Linked DNA regions of Homo sapiens: all the other regions are linked to region 1. The links are contacts of gene promoters, found by promoter capture Hi-C in blood cells and fetal thymus (Javierre and others, 2016). All regions are on one chromosome and are shown on one strand. The core of a region is centred on a gene start or on the middle of the fragment in contact, and the rest is flanking DNA. Distances in the headings are between cores, read along the strand shown. Region 1 holds the start of HACD1 (3-hydroxyacyl-CoA dehydratase 1). Region 2 overlaps LOC105376435 (a long non-coding RNA gene). Region 3 overlaps CUBN (cubilin). Region 4 overlaps CUBN (cubilin). Region 5 overlaps CACNB2 (calcium voltage-gated channel auxiliary subunit beta 2). Region 6 overlaps CACNB2 (calcium voltage-gated channel auxiliary subunit beta 2). Region 7 overlaps CACNB2 (calcium voltage-gated channel auxiliary subunit beta 2).

Region 1 (2,989 bases), core at 283-2,782:
TTGTAGTCCCAGCTACTCCGGAGGCCGAGGCAGGAGAATCGCTTGAACTCCGGAGGCTGAGGTTGGCAGTGAGCGGAGATCGCGCCAATGCACTCCAGCCTGGGCGACAGAATGAGTCTCCGTCTAAAAAATAAAATAAAATACTGTCAGGGCGGGATGGCTCACGCTTGTAATCCCAGCACTTTGGGAGGCCGAGGCGGGCGGATCATGAGGTCAGGAGATGGAGACCATCCTGGCTAACATGGTGAAACCCCGTCTCTACTAAAAATACAAAAAAATTAGCCAGGCGTGGTGGCGGGCGCCTGTAGTCCCAGCTACTCGGGAGGCTGAGGCAGAAGAAAGGCATGAACCCGGGAGGCGGAGCTTGTAGTGAGCCGAGATCCCGCCACTGCACTCCAGCCAAGACCGAGCGAGACTCCGTCTCAAAATAAATAAATAAATAATAAAAAGAAAAAAAGAAAATAGTAAACTTTTCCTCGCGTTTACATAAGTTAATACTTCGAGTGATAATGGGAAAATAACTTTTTTAAAAGGCAGTGCAATTGAGAAATGGAAAAGCATTTTCCCAACAGGTTTTGAGAAGCAGTTGACACAAAAGTCACTTTGAGAGCTCTGCGAAGAGCGACAGTCATTGTGTAACCTTAACTTGCAAAGTCATACTCAAAGCCAAAAATCAAGGTCCAGCTTATCAGCCACGGAGCCTGAGGCCATAAAGATGCTGGGCAGGAGCTCCACGCTGGGATAAGTGGGGTGGTTATTTCAAAATCGTCCCAAGTGACAAGCTCTAGGACGTGCTGTGCTTTAAAAAAAAAAAAAAAAAAAAGTCGCGGTGAAATTAACAGGGGCGAAAACTCTGCCCAGCGATCGCAGCATGAAGCTCTGCGCTCCCGAGACCATCGAGTGGCCAGGGCTGGGCGCTCCTTCAACAGCAGCGAAGGCAGCGGCGCCGGGGCAGCAGCCACCTCCCCCGCGGGCCGGCACCGCATTCCTGCCCGGTTCTATACTTAACCTCCGGCCAGCGCCCCGCCGTGCACCGTATTAGGCAATGCCAGGCGCGCAGGGCCCGGCCCCCCCGCCCGCTCCATTCAACCCCGGCGGTGGCCGCGGCGACAGCTCCCTTCCCCCACGGCCGCTGCCCGCACCCCCCGCGCCCCTTACACCCCGGCCCGCGCCCCCTGAACCCGGAACCTCCGCGGACCGCGGCGCGGGGAGGGCCCGAGGGTGCCCCGCGGCGCGCGTACCCCGCGGTCATGGCGATGTCGTAGAAGGTGAGCCAGGCGGTGGCCAAGACCCCCAGGCGCCTCCGCTCGCCGGGAGCCTCCCGGTCCTCGCCGGCCTCCGAGGCGCCGCCGTTGGTGCCGTCCTCGTCGCTGGACGCCATGGTGGCCGCGCACCTGGGGGACGTGGGAGACAGCGGCAGGAGCGTGGGAGGGGACCCTGCCCAGCCTGCAGCCCGAGAGCCGCTGCCCGCTGCCGCCGCTTCCGTCAGGCGCCCCATGTGCAGCGCGCAGGGGGCTCGGCGCAGCCAGCTCTACCGACCGCGAGGGGGAGGAGCGGACGCCCCCGGCCACCGCCCGTCACGCCCCCGCCCCGCCCCGCCCCTTGGGAGCGCGCGCCACTCGGGGGCCAGAACGCCTGGCCCTGGCACTGGGGATCCAGGACCCGCGAGCCCCGGCACGCTTTCCAGGCGGCGCTGTAGTTTCCGCTCCCGAGGAAAGTGCACCCGCCTCGCTAGCTGCGGGCGCCTCTTCATAGAGAGACGCCCAGACGCCTTGCGCCCTGGCGATGCGCACCCTGCGAGTGCATTTAGTGGGGACACAGGGAACGCACCTGAACTTGGCGTGGCTCTGCCCTGCCTGGCCTTTTGTAAGGCAGTTTCTCAATACGCAGGCAGGGAGCGGGATCTTCCCGCCACTCATTCTTTTCTTTTTAGAGATGCGGTCTCAGTCTGTCTCCTAGGCTGGAGGGCAGTGACGTGAACATAGCTCACTGCAATTTCGTGAGCTCAAGCAATCTTCCCACCTCTGCCTTCCAAAGTTCTGTGATTACAAGCCTGAGCCACAGCGCTGGGCCAAACATTCATTCATTCTTAAGAGCTTCTGGGGAAGAAACGCCTATTTCGCCCTGTTTCCCGTTTACTAGCGAGTCCAACAGGTCTTCCAACAGTGAGAAGACCGTCCCACTTGAGTGATTTTTTTTTCCTTTTTCATTTCTTATTTTTTTTTTTTTTTACAGTCTGGAGTGCAGTGTTGTGATCTCGGCTCACTGCAACCTCCGCCTCCCTGATTCAAGAGATTCTCCTGCCTCAGCCTCCCGAGTAGCTGGAACTACAGTCATGCACCACCACGCCCGGCTAATTTTTGTTATTTTTAGTAGAGACGGTTTCACCACGTTTGCCAGGCTGGTCCCGAACTCCTGGCCTCAAGTGATCCACCCGCCTTGGCTTCCCAAAGTGCTGGGATTACAGGCGTGAGCCACCGCACCCGGCCTCACTTGTGTGAATTTTACCGGAGCGTGTGTGTGTGTGTGTGTGTGTGTCTGTGTGTCTGTGTGTCTGTGTGTGTGTCTATTTACCAAGTGTCAGGCCTCTGAGCCCAAGCTAAGCCATTATATCCCCTGTGACCTGCACGTATACATCCAGATGGCCTAAAGTAACTGAAGAATCACTAAAGAAGTGTGGCCGGTTCCTGCCTTAACTGATGACATTACCTTTTGAAATTCCTTGCACCTACTGAAATACAACCCCCAAATTCCTGAATCCTCCCATTTTATTAGCTGTGTGAACTTGGACAACGTAACCTATCCATGCCTCAGTTTCCTTAGTGGAAATAATTTTTAAAAATCGTGAGCAGAGATCGCCCGTTGCACTCCAGCCTGGACGACAGAGTGAGACTCTGTCTCAAAAAAATAAAAAAAAAAGGAAAGGAAGGCTGGGTGTGGTGGCTCACCCCTGTAATCCTAGCACTTTGGGAGGCCGAGGTAGGCAGAT
Region 2 (2,989 bases), core at 218-2,717, 800 kb before region 1:
AAACTGTTTTTGCTACTCTCCACTGGCTCAACACTTCTGACACCAGAGAATCCCCCACACATGAAACAGTTCTCCAGCAGACACCAGCTCGGTGTCTTACAGTTTAACTTAATTCTGACACTGTCTACCTCAACTTATAGTCAAATCCCACAAGTTAAGGGTTCATTTCCACAAGACTTTAGGTTGACTGTCACCTACACTTCTGACTGACCAGCTATAAATCAGGGTTCCCACACCCCCTTCTCAGGTTTGATTAATTTGCTAGGATGATGGTTAGCCTGTCCAGGGTCCTGATTGCTAGCAGTGAAACTTCATGGTGACACAATTTGGAATCAGGAAACTTATCCCTTGGCCACTAGATCTGGGAAGTTGGCTCAATGTATGTTTCACCAGATAAGAATATTAAGGTTTTTGCCTCAGGACTGGCTCAGGAAATCAAGCAAGATGGAGCTGGGAAGTGTGCTTTGTGAAGCTGGGAGACATCAGCTGATAGTCTTGTATGGCTGTCTTGTTCTCTGCTTTATCCTCAGTGCGCTGAGTACGTATCACATAGCTGATGCTCAATAAACATTTGGAAACAAGTGAATTAAATGTAAAGCAGAACCAGAGGATATACGGTGGGTCTTACGAATGAGAGTACAGTTGACTCTTTTCTCCTTCTTCCAGCTGAATTACTCAAAAACTGAATTACTCAATAACTACTTCCCTTGGCTATACACGAAAATGTCATGCTCCCAAGCCTGACCATCCCTAACCCACTAAAAAATCACTGCTTATTTCCTAGATGCCCAGCCTGGAAGATTTTGTAAAGCTTCATTTTGTCTCTTTTTTTCTGTATTTTTAATTTTAAAATTACATAATAATATTGACTATGCTTTCCTCAATTTCAGGTACACACTTCCCAGATATTCCAATATGCCTCCTAGAAAAGCATGCCCTTCTGAGTGGAAATGATACCGTTACTCTAATGATGCAGTCCATGCTCTAAGCATCATTTTTTTGACAGTGACATCATGTTAATCTTTCTTTCAGAAAAGTACTATGTCATTTCATGTTATTGTTAAACTTTCCCTGTATTCTGTACTTTTGCAATTCATTTTTTGATAAAAGAGGAAGATCTTATATCTGTCACATTTCGTCTGTTACAATTGGCCCATTGTTGTAGCTTATCAAGACCTTTTGGATTTGATGGTGTTACTTATCGCATTCACTGTCCTTTCCAATGTAATTGTCACCCATAAAGTTGATATGTCTATCCATAATACAAAAAGGGAGCAGGAATTGTTGTTGTTGTTGTTTGTTTTTTTGAGATGGAGTCTCATTCTGTAACCCACACTGGAGTGAAGTGGCGCGATGTTGGCTCACTGAAACCTCCGCCTCCTAGGTTCAAGTGATTGTCCAGCCTCAGCCTCCTGAGTAGCTGAATTTTCAAGGTTAGAGTATTTTATTTCTGTGGCTCCATACTCTGTCCAGAAATAATTATCTGCCATTTGAGTATTAGAGTAAGATGAAGTTACATTCCTCAGCTTCTCTCATTCACATGGTCTTTTGTTAATAACCCTTGATTTTGCATAATTAACATAAAGCAAATCTCCTTTGTAAAGGCTTCCGCTTTTCTAGAGGCACTGAAAAACTTTATAAAAGCATTGAATTTTCTTATGAAAAGGAAGCTAATAACTACCTCACTTAGTTACATGTCTGGCAGCATTGGAGATAAGGATGTGCTACTGAACTTTCTACTTCTTGTTAAGTGGCAAACCATATTGTTTATTTATAACTTAACATATTGTGTTAAGGAATAGGCAATGGTGGTGCTTATGGAAACTTTGTACTCCTGAGCGTAAATACATAATAGAGTTTGGATATTTGTCCCTGCTCAAATCTCATGTTGAGTTATAAAAGCCAGTGTTGGAGATCGGCCTGGTGGGAGGTGTTTAGATCGTGGGGGTAGATCCCTCATGAATGGCTTGGGCCATACCCTTGGTGATAAGTGAGCTCTTGCTCTGAGTTCACATGAGAGCTGGCCACTTAAAAGTGTGTGGCACCTGTCCCATACTCTCGCTGTCTTGCTCCTGCTTTCACCGTGTGACATGCCTGTTTCCCCTTCGCCTTCCTCCATGATTATAAGCTTCCTGAGGCTGCCCCAGAAGCCAAGCAGATGTCAGCACCATGTTTCCTATAAAGCCTGCAGAGCTGTGAGCAGATTAAACCTCTTTTCTTTATAAGTTACCCAGTCTCGGGTATTTCTTTATAGCAATGCAAGAATGATCTATTACAGAAAATTGGTACCAGGAGTGGGGTTTTGTTATAAAGATACCTGAAAATGTGGAACTGACTTTGGAACAAGATAATGGGTAGAGGTTGGAAGAGTTTGGAAGGCTCAGAAGACATAAAGATGAGGGAAAATTTGGAACTTCTTAGAGACTGTTTAAAAGTTGCAACTAAAATTCTGATAGTGATATGGATAATGAAGTCCAGGCTGCCAAGGTCTTCGATGGTAATGAGGAACTTAGTGGGAACTGGAGCAAAGGTGACACATATTATGCCTTAGCAAAGAACTTGGCTGCATTCTGTCCATGCCCTAGGGATCTGTGGAAGTTTGAACTAAAGAGTGGCAACCTGGGGTATCTGGTGGAAAAAATTTCTAAGCAGCAAAGTGTTCAAGATTTGGGCTGGCTGCTTCTAATAGCATGTGCTCAGATGTGGGAGCAAAGAAATGACTTCGAATTGGAACTTATATTAAAAAGGAAAGCAGAGTGTAAAAATTTGGAAAATTTACAGCCTGGCCATATGGCAGAGAAAGAAAAAGCTTTTTCAGGAGAGGAATTCAAGCAGGCTGTGAGGCATCCACTTGCTAGAGATATTTGCATAACCAAAAGCCAACTGCTAATATCCAAGATAATGGAGAAAAGTCCCCAAAGGCATTTCAGAAACCTTTGCTGAAACCCCTCCCATCACAGGCCCAGAGGCCTGGGAGGAAAGAATGATT
Region 3 (2,989 bases), core at 283-2,782, 780 kb before region 1:
TGAAATGGGAGCCAAATCATGTTAGATTTAGTCTTAGAAGAGAACAGGCCATAACAGAAATTAGACTGCATATAAAAGCATGGTGTAAATATTTAGCCATGGAAACCAGCTCTGCTGTTGGAAGTGCTCTGCAAGAAGACTCACGTTGGCCTTGGAATTGATGCAAGTTGCACCTTCCCAGAGGGGCAGGAGGAAGGGAGGCAAAGCTTCTGCTGAAACCACAGACATTTCCCTGCTGAAAATAAGATCCCTCGCCTTTTATGCAACTTCCTAGCTGAGGCCTGTGCCATTGCTCTGAGGATCTAGGCTGTTTGAGAGCTCACTGGATCTCTCCTCCTGGGGCTTTTGCCATTGTCCTGAGCTCCATGGGACTAACAACCACCATCACCCTGATCCAGCCCTTGCTACCCCTTAGCAAATCTAATCAGAGCCTTTGGTTCCACTGTACATCCCCCAAGCCAGCCGGGGCCTGTCATGAGGTACCGGTTCCCCTTTGTAACACTAGGGCAGCCCTCATCACCTCTCAAAAGCCTGGAGTAAATGCAGTCGAATGCCCATCAGTTCTTGGGTAAAAACAAGTTGTACCAAAGTCAGGGTATTTGCAGCCTCCCTGTCACAGGAATGTCTCTAATATCTGCAGTTCTTAGGAACCTACTGAAACACCCCACCCGTCTCTGCTTGCAAAACTCCTGTAACTGCTCGGGGCTTCCACCCCTCTTCCCCACTGTCTCCTGCTCTTGGTCCTTGTCTAACTTTGCTGTATCCTGTGAACTTTAACTGCACTGTCAGTCATTCTCGGTATACATCCCCCACCTTTCCACTTTGTGGCCTTAGCAAAACCTGGTTCTCCAGCAGCCTCCTGGTAGAGGCTGTTCTTTACCCATGCTCCACAGTTCATTGAGTGGGAAGGGTGGGGGGCCAGCCTCGGGGGAAGGGAGGGAGGCTCCACATTCCTCACTGCAGCTTCCATCCTCGTCTCAAAGCTGGTTCTCCTTCGACGGTCTCTACATCTGGCCAAAGATATTCTTACCATTATCGTCACTCTCATTTACTTTTCTCCCAGTTACTTCCCTTCATTTATGAAAGACTTGAGGTGTCTCAGCTCATAGTCATCTCCTGCCCCTGATTTCCTTTCTGAACCCTTTAGAGGTTTCTGTGTTTTTATAGACAAGCCATTAAACACCCTCAACTTCATATTTCTTAACCTTAGGGCCTTCTATCTCTGCATCTCTGTTCATCTCCAGTGCCAGCTAACCACTGAACATCCTCCGTAACCACCCTACACATCATTCCTTCATGATCTGCCAATTAGGGCTGCTCTGTCTACTCTTGGATACCCCGAGAATCCCAGTTTCTCCCAGCTCATCCGTCAATGTTTGTCTTTCCTCCCTACCTACCCAGTCCGAAACCCTTGATTGTTTCCTGTATTCATTCAGTGGAAAACATTATTCAGTCATGACAAACACTGGGTCTTACTCGAGGCTGCTCCAGCTGCTGTTATGTTTCAGACGGTGTCTCGTGCCCTGAAAGTGCCATTCTGTGCCCCGCTGAGTGGTCCACCCTGATCCCCATTGTCTTAGCTTCGTGAAGCCAGGGAAAATTGAGAGAGCTTTCACCCAAAGGGCCTGTTCCACTTGGCTGTAAGTCCTCTAGGGTACCAATGGGTAATAGAGATTTTGTCCTGAAAACCATTACCAATGGAATGACGATAATCTAGCATCTTGTCCACCTTGGGAGCTCATCTCAGCATATATGCTTTGCACCAAACTCAGCAAGTCCAGGGTCTATTCAGCTGCCAGCACATCTCACGCCTCTCCACTCTGGAGTCACACAACCTGGACTTTTCTTTCCCCAGCAAGACCACATGAGAAGCAGGGGACCCCAGATTTATAATGAAGGGGACCCTGAAAACTCAGAAGACAACAGATACTCTACTAGTCCAGCATATGGGGCTTTGACCATGACATTTTACTGGAATGAACTGGGGAGGGTTAGTTGCTCCCCAAACTGCAGAAAGACAATCCAGGTATTCTCAGATGTTCTCCTGGTATCCATCCTCAGTTCGTGGCCAATCCCTTTGCATATTTTCCCCAGATAATCTCATTCTTCTCATTTTTCAATTACCTATCATGATAATGATGATGCACAAAAATCTTTGGGCCTTTGGTCAACAACCCACTTTGTGTCCAACTGTCTCCTCAACATCTTATTCCAGAGGAAATTCAGACTCAGCCTTTTTTAAAGCTCAAAATGGATTTTGTTGTTGTTGTTGTTGAGACGAAGTCTCACTCTGTCACCCAGGCTGGAGTGCAGTGGCGCGATCTTGGCTCACTGCAACCTCTGCTTCCCAGGTTCAAGCGATTCTCCTACCTCAGCCTCCTGAGTAGCTGGGATTACAAGCGCACACCACTGCACCCAGCTAATTTTTTGTATTTTCAGTAGAGGCAGGGTTTCACCACACTGGCCAGGCTGATCTTGAACTCCTGACCTCAGGTAATCCACCAGCCTTGGCCTCCCAAAGTGCTGGGATTATAAGCATGAGCCACCACACCCAGCCCTTTTCTTTTTATCTCTCTTATATTACCATGAATATAAACCTATCAGACTAGTGCCAAACAGCCTCTTCACTGATTCTCTTGTGTTCTGTACTGACCCTTTCAATTCAACCTATACATAAATCCCACTAACTAGAGGTATTTCTCCAAGCATGGTCCATGGAGTTCTGGTACTGGCACCAAAACACCAGAGGTGTTTGTCAAAAATTCAGATAAATGGGTGTTATATGGGGGATTCGGTCTCTGAGGGTGGGCCAGGGAGGATGCACTTTTAAGATGCATCTTAATGCATTCTTAGGCACATGAAGCTTTGAGAGCTCTGGACCTGCAGGACCAAGTTCAAGTTTCTCGACACACCTGATTGGAGGGCTTTGTGTATGGATGAAAAACACATTAAGCTGGAAGTAACTTAGAAAATTATTTCATCATGAAAC
Region 4 (2,989 bases), core at 127-2,626, 760 kb before region 1:
TATTTTTCTGTGCACTTGATGTTAGGCTTAGCCCTACGACTTGCTTTAGAATGAGTGTTAGTGGTCATGAAGCAGCCAGAGGCCTTAAACGTGCTTACGTTTTGTTCTTGTTTTTATTGTTGTCTAGGACTTTGTGCTCCTGTGATCCACTAAGATATCATGTGCTGAGTAACTGCTGGTTCAAAGAAAAAGTGGATTCATGTGGAGCAGACTTGAACCCAGACTCAACTTTACAGCCAACTACAGCCAACCCGCAGCTTGGAACGGAGGCAGGCAAGCTAGTCCGTGGACCCATAAGTGATAAAAACAAATGCTTTCATTATAAGACACTGAATTTTGGATGGTTTGTTAAGTAGCACTGTCATGGTAATAGCAGACTAATACACACAACTAATATTAATAGCTTGTTTGAGCTATCAAACTATAATAGAGCTCATTGTTCAATTCACAAAATATACACACAGAATAAAGAACATGGAGAAAAATATCATGAGATAATCCTGGCCAAAATAATCAAATATTTGAAGTGAATATCATATTACATGAGTGAACAGTTATTTGTGTAGTGCAGGGAATAGCAATTGCTCTAATTCCCCCTCTTTAGTGCTTAAATATAGCAAAACTGCTCCATGCAAAATGAAATGTAAGTGTATATGTCTTTGAGAAAACGTAATGATCAATATTAACAAAAGAAGGGTTCTTTCCCAAAAGGAGCTATTGCCACATTGCTCTTTCTGTGTTTCAATGGTGGGGGAATATAAACAAGGGCGACCTCTGTGACTATGCAATAGAGTCCCACGCATCAGAAAGTCATATATATTTACCATACTGATATTTTGAAATTGCATTTTTTAATGTATAAGCCATCTTAACCTTGATATGTTTAGCATCACCAATCCATCATTTCCTCATTACTACACATTTTGGGGCCACCTAGACAGCTCTCATCCATCAGCACCTGCCTCATCAATCAGGTGTGTCAGTCACTCTCTGATGACACACCCTGCGTCCAAGAACAAACGTCACTCTTTCTTCCCTGAATTGGAAATATCTCTCTCACACAAAAGAGCCATTTCTTCAGAGAAAATACATGTTTTGGCTAAAGAAATATTGGAAATATAACCCCATAATAAGGAGTGAGATCCAGGTCTAAATCTACTTAATTAAAAATCGGTAACCGAATCCTGAATTATTACCTTCCAATGACTAAACCTCAGAGTGAAGCTTAAGCCAAGATCAATCTGATAAGGGAAAAAATAGTTACATTCTCTTGGATAAAACATCTCGAAGGCTTCAGTGGAGTTAGATACATTTTTAAATCATTATTTGGAGAATTGACATTTTTGTGGCTCACATTCTATACGGCTGACATTTTCCTGAGGTTGTCTGGATAGTATCTCTGCCTGTCTCTGGTTGACCACTACTGAGAAGGTGCACAGTGTGCTGTACGAGCAGATACAGACTGGCTTGACTTCAGGCCCTCTCCTGTTTCCAGCAAGCCATCTGTGGCTTTAGGCTGCAGCTGAAGGAAGCTTTACTGGAAACTACAGGAAGCAGAATACAAAGACATTTAAAGCTGGTGCCTTAGGGAAATTCGAGCACACCTAGACAGCTTCCTTTCTACCACCCAGGGATGCAGGGCTAGAAATGCATTATCCTTTTTTGGAATCAGCCTTACTGTAATTTATAAAGCTGCAGATACACAATTGCTCCAAAGCAGTGTATTCATGTAAAAACATTCTACTAGGTTTCAGACGAACCTGTTTTGTCTTTTTCTCTAAAAGTAAACAGTGTTTATTATTTTACTCCCTAATCTCCAATGTGTACAATACTTCAGGTATAATATTTATGTTTTACAAGAAAAAAGTTAGTAGTTTTTGTAATGAGGTTTTTTATTGTTTTGTTTGTTTTTAGTTGCTTCACTTAATTTGACTCACTTTAGTTATCCTAATTTGAAACCCAGCTTAATCTAAATTAAAATGTGTATTTAGTCTGGTAATATTTAGGAATCATAAAACTAAAAGAATGGTAATTTACTAAAAGAAAGGTAATTTCAGCAAGCTAATCAGTAGCTGTAGTTAATAGAAAAAGAGCAATACTTGTATAAAGAACTTAGGAGAAGGAAAATTTTATCGTTATCTTTTAATTTATCTTGCATTATTTAGATATCACTGAAAATGCTCTATGCATACATCATTAGCCCCAGGGCATTTTATGAGAATCATTCTTTCCAACTTGGAAATTAAAAAAATAATTTACTAAGCAAAATGACATGATCATGTCAGTTGATGCTGAAAAAGGATTTGACAAAATCCAACACACATTCATGATAAAAACTCTTGGCAAACTAGGAATAGAGGAGAAATTTCTTGACTTGATAAAAACCATCTGCAAAAACCTACAGCTAACAGCATAATTAATGGTGAAATACTAAACGCTTTCTCCCTAAGATCAGGAACAAGGCAACGATATTGATTTCACACCCCTCTAACTCAGCGTAGTATTAGAATTCTTGCCAGAATAAAGCAAGAAAAAATATATAGAGAGACTGGAAAGGAAGAAATAAAATTTCCACTTTTGCAAGTAACTATTAGCTGCAGAAAATCCCAAGTAATATGGAAAAACATTCTTAGAACTAACATATGAGTTCAGCAAGAACTCAGGATAAAGGAACAATACACAAAAATCAATCAAATTTTAATATACTAACCATTAACATGTGGAGACCAAAATTAAAAAACAATACCATTTATAATCATTACAAAAAAATGAAATATTTAGGTATATACTTAATGAAGCAGATACAGGCTTATGTGATGAAAATTACAAAATAATGAAATAAATAAAAGAAGGCCTAAATAAGTCTAGATACATATATGTTCATGGATTGGAAAACTCAACATAGTAAAGACATCAGTTTTCCCCAAATTGATGGATAGATTTAATGCAATTCCTATAAAAATCTCAGCAAGGTTTTTCTGCAAACATC
Region 5 (2,989 bases), core at 306-2,805, 690 kb after region 1:
GTGCAGGTTTGCTGTATAGGGAAGGATTGCTATCACAGGGATTAGATGTACAGATTATTTCCGTCATCCACGTAATAAGCATAGTGCCCTCTAGGCGATTTTTCAATCCTCACTCTCCTCCCGCCCTCCGCTCTCCAGGGGACCCTGGTGTCTGTGTTCCCATTGTAGTGTCCTACAGCAAAATTTTCTATTCTTCACATTTCTTGAAAGATCATTGTAAAATGGCAAGTATATTTTAAAATGGCAATGCTGTAAAAGCACTCACAGTGATTTCTTGGGTTACCACTCAGCTTCCCCACAAGGTCACTTTCATGAGATCTGGCTCTTGGGGTCAGAATGAATTGTAGGTTGGATACGCATCAGCCTGCCAAAAACAACCCCAAGTGTGCCAAGTATGGGAGCCAGCAACGTTACAGAAGGCATACGGTATGCCTGACACCTTTGGCTCTTGGCAAAATGAGCCAAGGGTATGACTTGACAACTTTTTTGGGTGAACAAGTTGTCCCTTTTGTATCAAATGTCATCAGCTCACTGATGTGTATTTGCTGATGTCAGCCAGAAAATGAAGCACTTGCAAAAAATGCAATTTTAAAGCAGTCATATTTGAATACTAACTTCCACTGATTCTCATTTGGGTTTGGAAGCAATGCACAATTGCCCTTAAAATAGAAAAAAAAAACTTATTCCTCGGAAGTGATGCTGTCCTTCTCCCCTCGTCGTTACCAATTTTTTCACTAAAATGAATATTGTCAACAATGAAGTAAAAGTGAAGCTGTCATTTGATATGTTTCTGAAATTTTAAAATATTGAATGGTTATTTTCAGACTAAATATGTTATCTTATTTTTTATATGTTTAAAGGTAGCAGGAAAAGTGACTCTTGTATTTATGACGGGAGAAAGAGGGGACAATTCAGAAACAGAGAGGGAGACCAATAGAGTCAAAAATGTCTCCAACAGTTACATAAGCACCAGACTGCCAAGAATTTTTACACTGAAGCCGGAGCTTGACTGGGAAGTAGAGGTACACATCACATGAGAACACAGGTGGTTGGGTCGGGGCTGCATGGTGCAGTTCAGGTCTTCAACAGGGTAGACTCTTCAGAAAATGTGGATTTTTCTTTTTTCCTTTTTTTAGTTTAGTGGAGCCTCGCTCTGTCGCCAGGCTGGAGTGCAATGGTGCGATCTCGGCTCACTGCAACCTCTGCCTCCCGGGTTCAAGCGATTCTCCTGACTCAGCCTCCCAAGTAGCTGGGATTACAGTCCCGCGCCACCATGCCCAGCTAATTTTTGTATTTTTAGTAGAGACAGCGTTTCACCATGTTGGCCAGGCTGGTCTCAAATCTCCTGACCTTATGATCCACCCGCCTCAGCCTCCCAAAGTGCTGGGATTACAGGTGTGAGCCACCTCGCCCAGCCCAGAAAATGTGGGTTTTATTTGATCTGGTGTATTTCTGTTTGTTTCAGAATAGATGTCCGGATAAACAGTCACCTGAGAATGAGGAAGGTGTGTGTTTTCAAACCTGCACATAATAAAAAGACTATTGATAAGATTATTAGAATGGAGATAGAAAACTAATTTTAAAATTAACATTATTTTGCCATTTAGAAATGAATAAAGTTATTTCTGATACCAGTTATTTGAAGAAATATCATCAGAGGACTTAATTTATATATCCAACTAAAAATGATGGCAGTGCTGCTGTTTCTAAGCTGTGTGTAAATACTCAGTTACAGTTTCTTAATTTGGTCTCAAATAGATTTTTTTTTTCAACTTGCGTGCTACAGGTTTATTTTTCTGTTGTATTTTCAGCAATGTTTTAAAACTCATTCTTTGAAATTCTAAAATTTGTCAATTAAGATTGGGTTTCGTAGTTCTTAACATCTTTTATCCTCTCTAAAATTAAGTCTACTTTGATGGTAATAATTAGGTTTACTGTGTTGATAAACTAAGGAAAGCATACAATTTAAAAAAGTGATTTTTTAGGCTGGGCGTGGTGGCTCACGCCCGTAATCCCAACACTTTGGGAGGCTGAGGTGGGCGGGTCACCTGAGGTTGGGAGTTCGAGACCAGCCTGACCAACATGGAGAAACCCCATCTCCACTAAAAATACAAAATTAGCTGGGCGTGGTGGTGGATGCCTGTAATCCCAGCTACTCAGGAGGCTGAGGCAGGAGAATCAGTTGAACCCAGGAGGCGGAGTTTGTGGTGAGCCAAGATCATGCCATTGCACTCCAGCCTGGGCAATAATAGCAAAACTCCATCTCAAAAAAAAAAAAAAAAAAAAAAAGTAAAAAAAAAAAGAAAATTATAAAGAAAAGAAACCCACCCACTGGGTTCGAGCAATTCTCCTGCCTCAGCCTCCCTAGTAGCTGGGATTACAGGCATGCGCCACCATGCCTGGCTAATTTTTTTTGTATTTTTAGTATAGATGGGGTTTCACCACATTGGCCAGGGTGGTCTCGAACTCCTGACCTCAAGTCATCCACCCACCTTGTCCTCCCAAAGTGCTGGTATTACAGACCTGAGCCACTGTGCCCGGACTGTTTTCTTTCATTTTCTGTTTTGGTTTACAAACCTCCACTTTAGTCTTCAAATACATTCATTTTATTAATTATGCTGACCATTGAATTTTTTTATGCTGGCAAGTATATTTTAATTTCCAAGGACATTTCATTGCCTCATCAGTACTTTTTCATAGCTTTTTGTTCTTGTTTTATAAATGCAATAATCTCTTGACTCTCTCTGAAGATACCAATTTGGATTTTCTGCTTGTTTAAGTTTGCTTAAGTTCCTTGTATTTTTGTTTCCCTGAAATTGGTTTATCTGCTTATTTTGGACCTTTTAGGCTCTTCTTTCTTTTTATTTTCCAAATATCTGCTTTTACTTATTTGTCCATCCATATTTGTGAATGATTGACTACTTTGGTTCATTATAGGCAGGTGGCATGGGTTCCTCTGGAATCTTTTAGTCTTGTTTTCTTAGTAGTC
Region 6 (2,989 bases), core at 361-2,860, 680 kb after region 1:
GGCTATGGGAAGGTTACTTTCGCTGTTACTTATGATATCTGTGTCTGGCAAACCAGAGAACTTTTTGCATTTGGGTAACAAAGACGTTTGGAAATATACTCCATTGGATTTTCCATGTTGGTGAAACTATTGTTGACCGCTTCAGTACTGTATGTTGCCATGCCAAAATCACCTAAGGGCAAAAATGTCTCCTGGGTAAGTAGATGTTGATTTTATATCTCTTAAAAAGTATATTTTAAGCAGAAACACATGCTTTAAGAACTTAAAGACATCTAGTTGTTTCATGTTGGTAAGAGTATTTGGAAAACCTTCAGAAAGCATTTGTCTTAGAAAAGCATATAAATATCTTTGTAAGTGTTAGAAATCCTTTGGCAAAGTCACGGTGGAGTGCTTGCTAAAATATGAACTATAAGACATGTAAACACTCAGTTTGTTTTGCCATTTTTAGGTTTTTAGGTTTGCTTCACCTTTGCATACACACACAGAATTTAAAGTGCATTCATACAAAGTCAAGGTTATGATTTTAACATGTTTTCAACTCCAAAACTGTTTGTGTTGAGTAAAGATTGCCTAGATTTCTTTTTTGGGGTAAGTCAAATGTTAAGGGTAGAATATGTGATTTTCATTATTCAGTGATATTGTTGGTGTGTTCCTTTTTTCCTTGGAAACAAGATAGCATAGCTGTTTCTTAATTTTACGTATCTAAGTAATTGCCCTCAATCAATGATAGACATGTATAAAGTTTAACATTTCAGTAATAACAACGGCATGTTAATCCTAATCAAATTTGACTCCTTAATATTGTTTCAAGGTGGCTGGGTGCAGTGGCTCACGCCTGTAATCCCAGTACTTTAGGAGGCCGAGGCGGGCAGATCACGAGGTCAAGAGTTCGAGACCAGCCTGGCCAATATGGTAAAACCCCGTCCCTACTAAAAATACCAAAATTAGCTAGGCCTGGTGGCGAGTGCCTATAGTTCCAGCTACTCAGGAGGCTGAGGCAGAAGAATCGCTTGAACCCAGGAGGTGGAGGTTGCAGTGAGCTGAGATCGGGCCACTGCACTCCAGCCTGGGAGACAGAGTGAGACTCCATCTCAAAATAAAATAAAATTATATATATAGATTTAAGGTAGTTTCCTACCAAAAACACAAAACCTACCAGATTGAGCTCAGAATAACGAGAACAATCTGTAAACTCTTAAAAAATAAGGGCTTTAGTTTCCTGCTATCATGTTAAGTGAGCTTGATACATTAAAATTAACAGGCAAATGGATTCCTTTCTATTCTGTACAGAAAGTTGTGTGTCTAAACACCAAATTTTTTACCACCAGCCCATGCAACCTCGACCATACTCATCATAGAATTTATTATTAGATCATCATTATGGTTTTTTGGCAATAATGTAGGAAAAATAAATAATTCCATCTTTTTGGTCAAGAGATAACGTTTACTACCTTAATTTGAAATTCACCAATTAGGTTATTCTTACTTTATATGAAATAGCACCATATTTGTCTAAAAATGGTTATTGTGGCTTTTTTCTGTTATAGACAGTTATTCTTTAAGAGTACTTAATTAAAAGAGGTGTACCTTAGTTTGAAACACAACTCTCAAAATTATTTCAGAAAAATTGACAAAATTTTTGAAGTTAATTCGCTTTTAATAATGGATACTTTTTGTCTTCATATTATTGTTATCGTTGATTCTTCACTTCCTCTTAGTAAAACCAAGAGATATGATTCAGGAACCTTTGGCCTAACTGGTGAGTTTCTTTCCCTCCTTATACGGATGGGTCCAAGGGCTAGTTCTGATGTCCAAATGTGAGTTTGCTACTTTCTGCCAGCACATAAACATTAAAGAAAAGAGTCGTTTCAGAAGTACATCCCCTCCTTCATCTGATTAATACTCCTAAAAGATTAATTCTGTCAAACTAGTGCCTGCCTAATGGCATGTTTCTACCATGAAAGCAAAACTTGAAACATTAAGCTCAGACTCTACCCTTGGGTTGGGTTTACTTCATACTCAATTATGCTAATATTTTTTGAAAAGTTCAAGTTGTTGGCTAAAAATTTAGGAGCACTTATTTCAAGAGAGTCAGCATAGTTTCATTTCCTCAGGTTAAAAATTCCCCGGTGTATCCCACACTATTACAAAATGCCTCTGTACCAGGTTTGTCCAAAGATGAGTTATGAGTTTAATGACTGCCATATTACAGAGAATACAGTCATTTGGTTGGTGTGTGCTGATTATGCAGTGGTCCAATCATTCATGTTAATGACTATGATAAAATTCCTTAGTTTGACTTTAGGGCATAGAGAGAGAGACTTTGAAATGTTGATCATTGCTTCAGTTTTCACCAGTCACGGTTTTTTAGGTATTGAATGACGTTTCCCTGCATTTTTTGGCTATGTGAAGTGAAATGTATCTGGTCTTCCTGCTTTTGCCACTGGCCAGTTTCCATTTGGATATTTATTTAGACTTGAGTTCAGGAGGAGAATAAAATGATTCCCCTTGTCTCTTTAACCACATAGTAAACTTCCCAGTGGTGACAGAAGATCATGTAACTCTTCCTCCCTGGCCCCTCGGGCACGTTTCCGAGACCTGCTTCACTCCATGTGATAAACATGAACACATCTTGTGGAACACTGCAAGCCCCAGAGTGGACCACCACCTTCTTTCTCCTGTTCATGCCTGGTCAGAGTGGTATCTAGGCAACTGGTTAAACTGCTTGACAGTGTAGCTCTCTGTGCAATGGAAAAGATGATAGCAACCAGCATGTTCTCTGAGATGTGCTGAGGCTTATCAGATCATCCTGGTACAAGGGTTCGACATTCATTCAACAAATGTTCACAGAGTGCCTCTTCTATGATCCTCTAGGTACCGAGGACGCAGTGAAAAAGATCCTTGAGAATCTCCAACATCATAGAGCTTACATTCTAGGGAAGGGAGAAAGACAAAAAGCAAATACCTAAGTAGTACATAAGATGGTGAA
Region 7 (2,989 bases), core at 157-2,656, 650 kb after region 1:
CTCAGAGCTTTTCCAGATAATGTCTTAAGATGTCCTTTAAGGGTGATATTTGGCTTTTAAGACCTCTGTATCTTTGAATGTCAAGTTCATATATGTATTTTCGTAAGAAATTGATAACTTCATATTTGGAACTGCATTTTTTTTTTATTAATAATAGCTTTTAATATTGGCCATGTTAAAATCCTTAATTTTTTTCAGAACTTTAAATTTGGCTTTAATTATAAACCTCACTACATAATGACATTTTATTAAAATTAAATAAGGGGCTGGGTGTGGTGGCTCGCTCCTGTAATCCCAACACTTTGGGAAGCCAAGGTGGGCAGATCACTTGAGGTCGGGATTTCAAGACCAGCCTGGCCAACATGGTGAAACCCCATCTCTACTAAACATACAGAAATTAGCCAGGTGTGGTGGCGGGCACCTGTAATCCCAGTTACTCAGGAGGCTGAGGCATGAGAATCACTTGAACCCAGGAGGTGGAGGTTGCAGTGAACTGAGATCACACCACTGCACTCCAGCCTGGGTGACAGAGTGAGACTCCATCTCAAAAAAGAAAACAAAAAAATAAAAAGGGAAATGAGGTAAACTTTCATATAAACATTAAGAAGCACAGAGGCGGGAAAATGAAATTAAGTTGGTGGTTGGCAACCTCTGGGCATGTGTAGAGAATGAGCTTGTTGGTGCATGTTCAGGGTCATGGGACCCTCTGGTTGCCTTAGCATCTCCCAGCACAGCCCCAGTTAACACCTATCACTTTTTCTTCCCATTGGAGAGGCAGTTTCATGTGTGAATGACACTTCCGGGGCAGCGGCCCAGCCTTTGCACACCAGAGAAGCTCCTGCAAGTTACTTCATCACTCTGTGCCTCAACTTGCCTTTCTATGAAACAAGAATAATAAGAGTCTTACTCTTAAGTTTTCTATGATTATTAAATGTGTTAAACTATGAAAACACTTGGCACGGAGTAAGTACTCAAGTAAATGTGAACTGTTTCAATTGTGATTATTCCCACCTCCCTCTGCATCTGAGTACAACTTCTCCAGTGCTGAAAAAGAGCAGTCCCTTTTAGAAGGATGCCTTCATTGTTTTAAAGAAAGCTCTTGTAAAGCGTATTGAATTATGTAGGAATGTAGTGGTCATCATCTAACTGTTCATTCATGAAGCAATTACTGAGTCCCTGCTCTTTGCCCAAGGCTATTCTGAAAGTTAGAAATGTACAGAGGAATTGAACCTTTCATCTCTGTTCTCAGAAAAGTCTAGTCTAGCAGTGGAAATATATGAGTTTCCGGAACATTAAAATGTGTTTGACATAACAGGATTATCTGACAATAGGAATAAATAAATGGTATACCACCTATAGTAGGAAATAGCATATAGACATTAAAGAGAAAAGGCTAGATTTGTATAGACTTACGTAGAAGGAGGTTTATATTCTGAGAATACGTTATATAAAAATTAAGACGTAGAGCAATGTATATAGTATGATTGCATTTATTCTACATGTGTTTGCATTTATATTGGTGTTTGCATGAGTAGAGGTCTAAAAGACTTTACCAGTATACGAACAGCACATGAAAATGAGATTATAGAGGAACAGGCAGGATTTTACCTTTTACATCATTAAGTATGTTGCAATAAGTATGTTTTAATTTAATAATACATATTTAATGTGACAAATGCCTTAAAATTAATTTATCCCTCACCTTTTCCCAGAAAGGCTTATAAAATTTAAATATGTTATCTCCTACCTCACTAGAAAACACTCAACCTGAAATGCATTGAGCAAAAGTAATTCATAAATGGAGGAGTCTACTGATTGAGAAATTGTCATATGTACTCAAAGTATTTTGGAATAAAGAAGGGCAAGGTCTGGCCTTCTTCTTGATCAAGAAGTGTCTCATAGCAGCACTGCTATGAGCTCCCAAATGTCCTTTAGGTCTGGCCTTCATGAGATGTTATATGTGGAGGTGCTTAACTGTGGGTTAGGGTTAAGTCCTTTGCTTTGCATGATAAGAACCTGTTTCACGAAGGGTGATCAAGTCCTACTGAGTTGATTTGCACTGTGGTACACCTTCGTTGCTGGCAGATTTCCTAAATAAATAAAGGTCAGAAGGAATATATGAGATCTAAGCAGGTGAATTTACATCATCTTAAGAGATATTTCCATTAATTTGTGCTAGCCTACTGAATTATCATCCGTCACTAAAGATACACACAACTCATGATGGTCACATGGTCACATCTGTTAGACATGGCCCCATCCCACTGTCTAAAACACTTTTCCCTTCACTTCTGTGATACCACATTCTCCTGTCTCCATTTTTTTCTTCCTATTTCTCCTAATCTACATATGATATATTCAATGTCTTGCCATATTGCTATTCCTTCAGGTGGTCATGAGTCCATCCTCAACTCTAGAGAAGCTGGTGAATGGTAACATAACATTTGAGGAATGCTCAAAAGAAAGAAAATCTGAAAGAAAATAGACCTAGAAAAAATGGCTAGAGAAATTGAAGTTAAACTTTTCTGCACATACGCTGATAGCTACCAAATCAATATGCCCAGCCCAGATCTTTCTTCCAAGTTTTAGACCCATATTCAAAAGTTTCCAGACATCTCTATTTGGAAACTCTCCAGGCACTGTAAACATGGTTATACAAGACTGAGCTCCATCCTTGCGGTCCTGTTCCTCCCTCTCTCTGCTCCTCCCTTCCACTCTCCCACCACTACTTATATCTACTCCTCATTTACTGGTTAGATTAAATGACACTTTTATACTCTCCATTGTCCAAGCCAGAAACATGGTCCTGTCCCTCTTCTTTACTTTCTGATCCATTCAATCATGTTCGATCATTGCTACTTCCTTGAGAGCTCTGGAATCTTTTCTTTCTATTCCACCTATCTCCATCCTAGTGCAGGCTGTTATTTTCTTCCCCAGTTACCACAGTAACTGCAGTAGTCCATTCTCACCCTGCTGTAAAGTAGTACTC

The links. Contacts are between HindIII fragments. The CHiCAGO score rates a contact against its expected background, and 5 or more counts as called.
Region 2: a contact is called between a fragment that was not itself captured here and the fragment with the promoter of HACD1 in region 1, in 5 of 17 cell types (megakaryocytes, M2 macrophages, erythroblasts and 2 more). The highest score is 10.1, in megakaryocytes.
Region 3: a fragment that was not itself captured here is called in contact with the fragment with the promoter of HACD1 in region 1 in 5 of 17 cell types (M0 macrophages, M2 macrophages, megakaryocytes and 2 more); the score reaches 8.8 in M0 macrophages.
Region 4: a contact is called between a fragment that was not itself captured here and the fragment with the promoter of HACD1 in region 1, in 4 of 17 cell types (megakaryocytes, M1 macrophages, erythroblasts and 1 more). The highest score is 6.8, in megakaryocytes.
Region 5: a contact is called between a fragment that was not itself captured here and the fragment with the promoter of HACD1 in region 1, in 3 of 17 cell types (monocytes, M1 macrophages and M2 macrophages). The highest score is 5.4, in monocytes.
Region 6: a contact is called between a fragment that was not itself captured here and the fragment with the promoter of HACD1 in region 1, in 1 of 17 cell types (monocytes). The highest score is 7.9, in monocytes.
Region 7: a fragment that was not itself captured here is called in contact with the fragment with the promoter of HACD1 in region 1 in 2 of 17 cell types (monocytes and M2 macrophages); the score reaches 5.8 in monocytes.

Annotation. Positions count from the first base shown.
Region 1 is chr10:17,615,842-17,618,830 of GRCh38, forward strand. It overlaps HACD1 (3-hydroxyacyl-CoA dehydratase 1), which reads right to left and starts at 1,533. Exons shown (of 7, transcript NM_014241.4): 1 at 1,242-1,533. The coding sequence starts at 1,498. RefSeq lists a silencer at 1,074-1,733. The HindIII fragment of the contact is 16,531 bases long and covers 1-2,989 here.
Region 2 is chr10:16,819,938-16,822,926 of GRCh38, forward strand. LOC105376435 (a long non-coding RNA gene) reads left to right here. Exons shown (of 3, transcript XR_930708.3): 3 at 891-1,320. Among named protein-coding and RNA genes, the nearest start is that of RSU1, 4.0 kb to the left of the region's middle. RefSeq lists a silencer at 2,928-2,989. The HindIII fragment of the contact is 1,317 bases long and covers 810-2,126 here.
Region 3 is chr10:16,836,389-16,839,377 of GRCh38, forward strand. All of the region lies in intron 62 of CUBN (cubilin), which reads right to left. Among named protein-coding and RNA genes, the nearest start is that of RSU1, 20 kb to the left of the region's middle. The HindIII fragment of the contact is 2,657 bases long and covers 205-2,861 here.
Region 4 is chr10:16,855,306-16,858,294 of GRCh38, forward strand. All of the region lies in intron 59 of CUBN (cubilin), which reads right to left. Among named protein-coding and RNA genes, the nearest start is that of RSU1, 39 kb to the left of the region's middle. RefSeq lists a silencer at 941-1,141. The HindIII fragment of the contact is 308 bases long and covers 1,223-1,530 here.
Region 5 is chr10:18,308,340-18,311,328 of GRCh38, forward strand. The region is part of intron 2 of CACNB2 (calcium voltage-gated channel auxiliary subunit beta 2); the gene reads left to right. Among named protein-coding and RNA genes, the nearest start is that of CACNB2-AS2, 48 kb to the left of the region's middle. The HindIII fragment of the contact is 3,209 bases long and covers 1-2,989 here.
Region 6 is chr10:18,291,563-18,294,551 of GRCh38, forward strand. All of the region lies in intron 2 of CACNB2 (calcium voltage-gated channel auxiliary subunit beta 2), which reads left to right. Among named protein-coding and RNA genes, the nearest start is that of CACNB2-AS2, 32 kb to the left of the region's middle. The HindIII fragment of the contact is 3,675 bases long and covers 1-2,989 here.
Region 7 is chr10:18,267,060-18,270,048 of GRCh38, forward strand. The region is part of intron 2 of CACNB2 (calcium voltage-gated channel auxiliary subunit beta 2); the gene reads left to right. Among named protein-coding and RNA genes, the nearest start is that of CACNB2-AS2, 7.0 kb to the left of the region's middle. The HindIII fragment of the contact is 5,111 bases long and covers 1-2,989 here.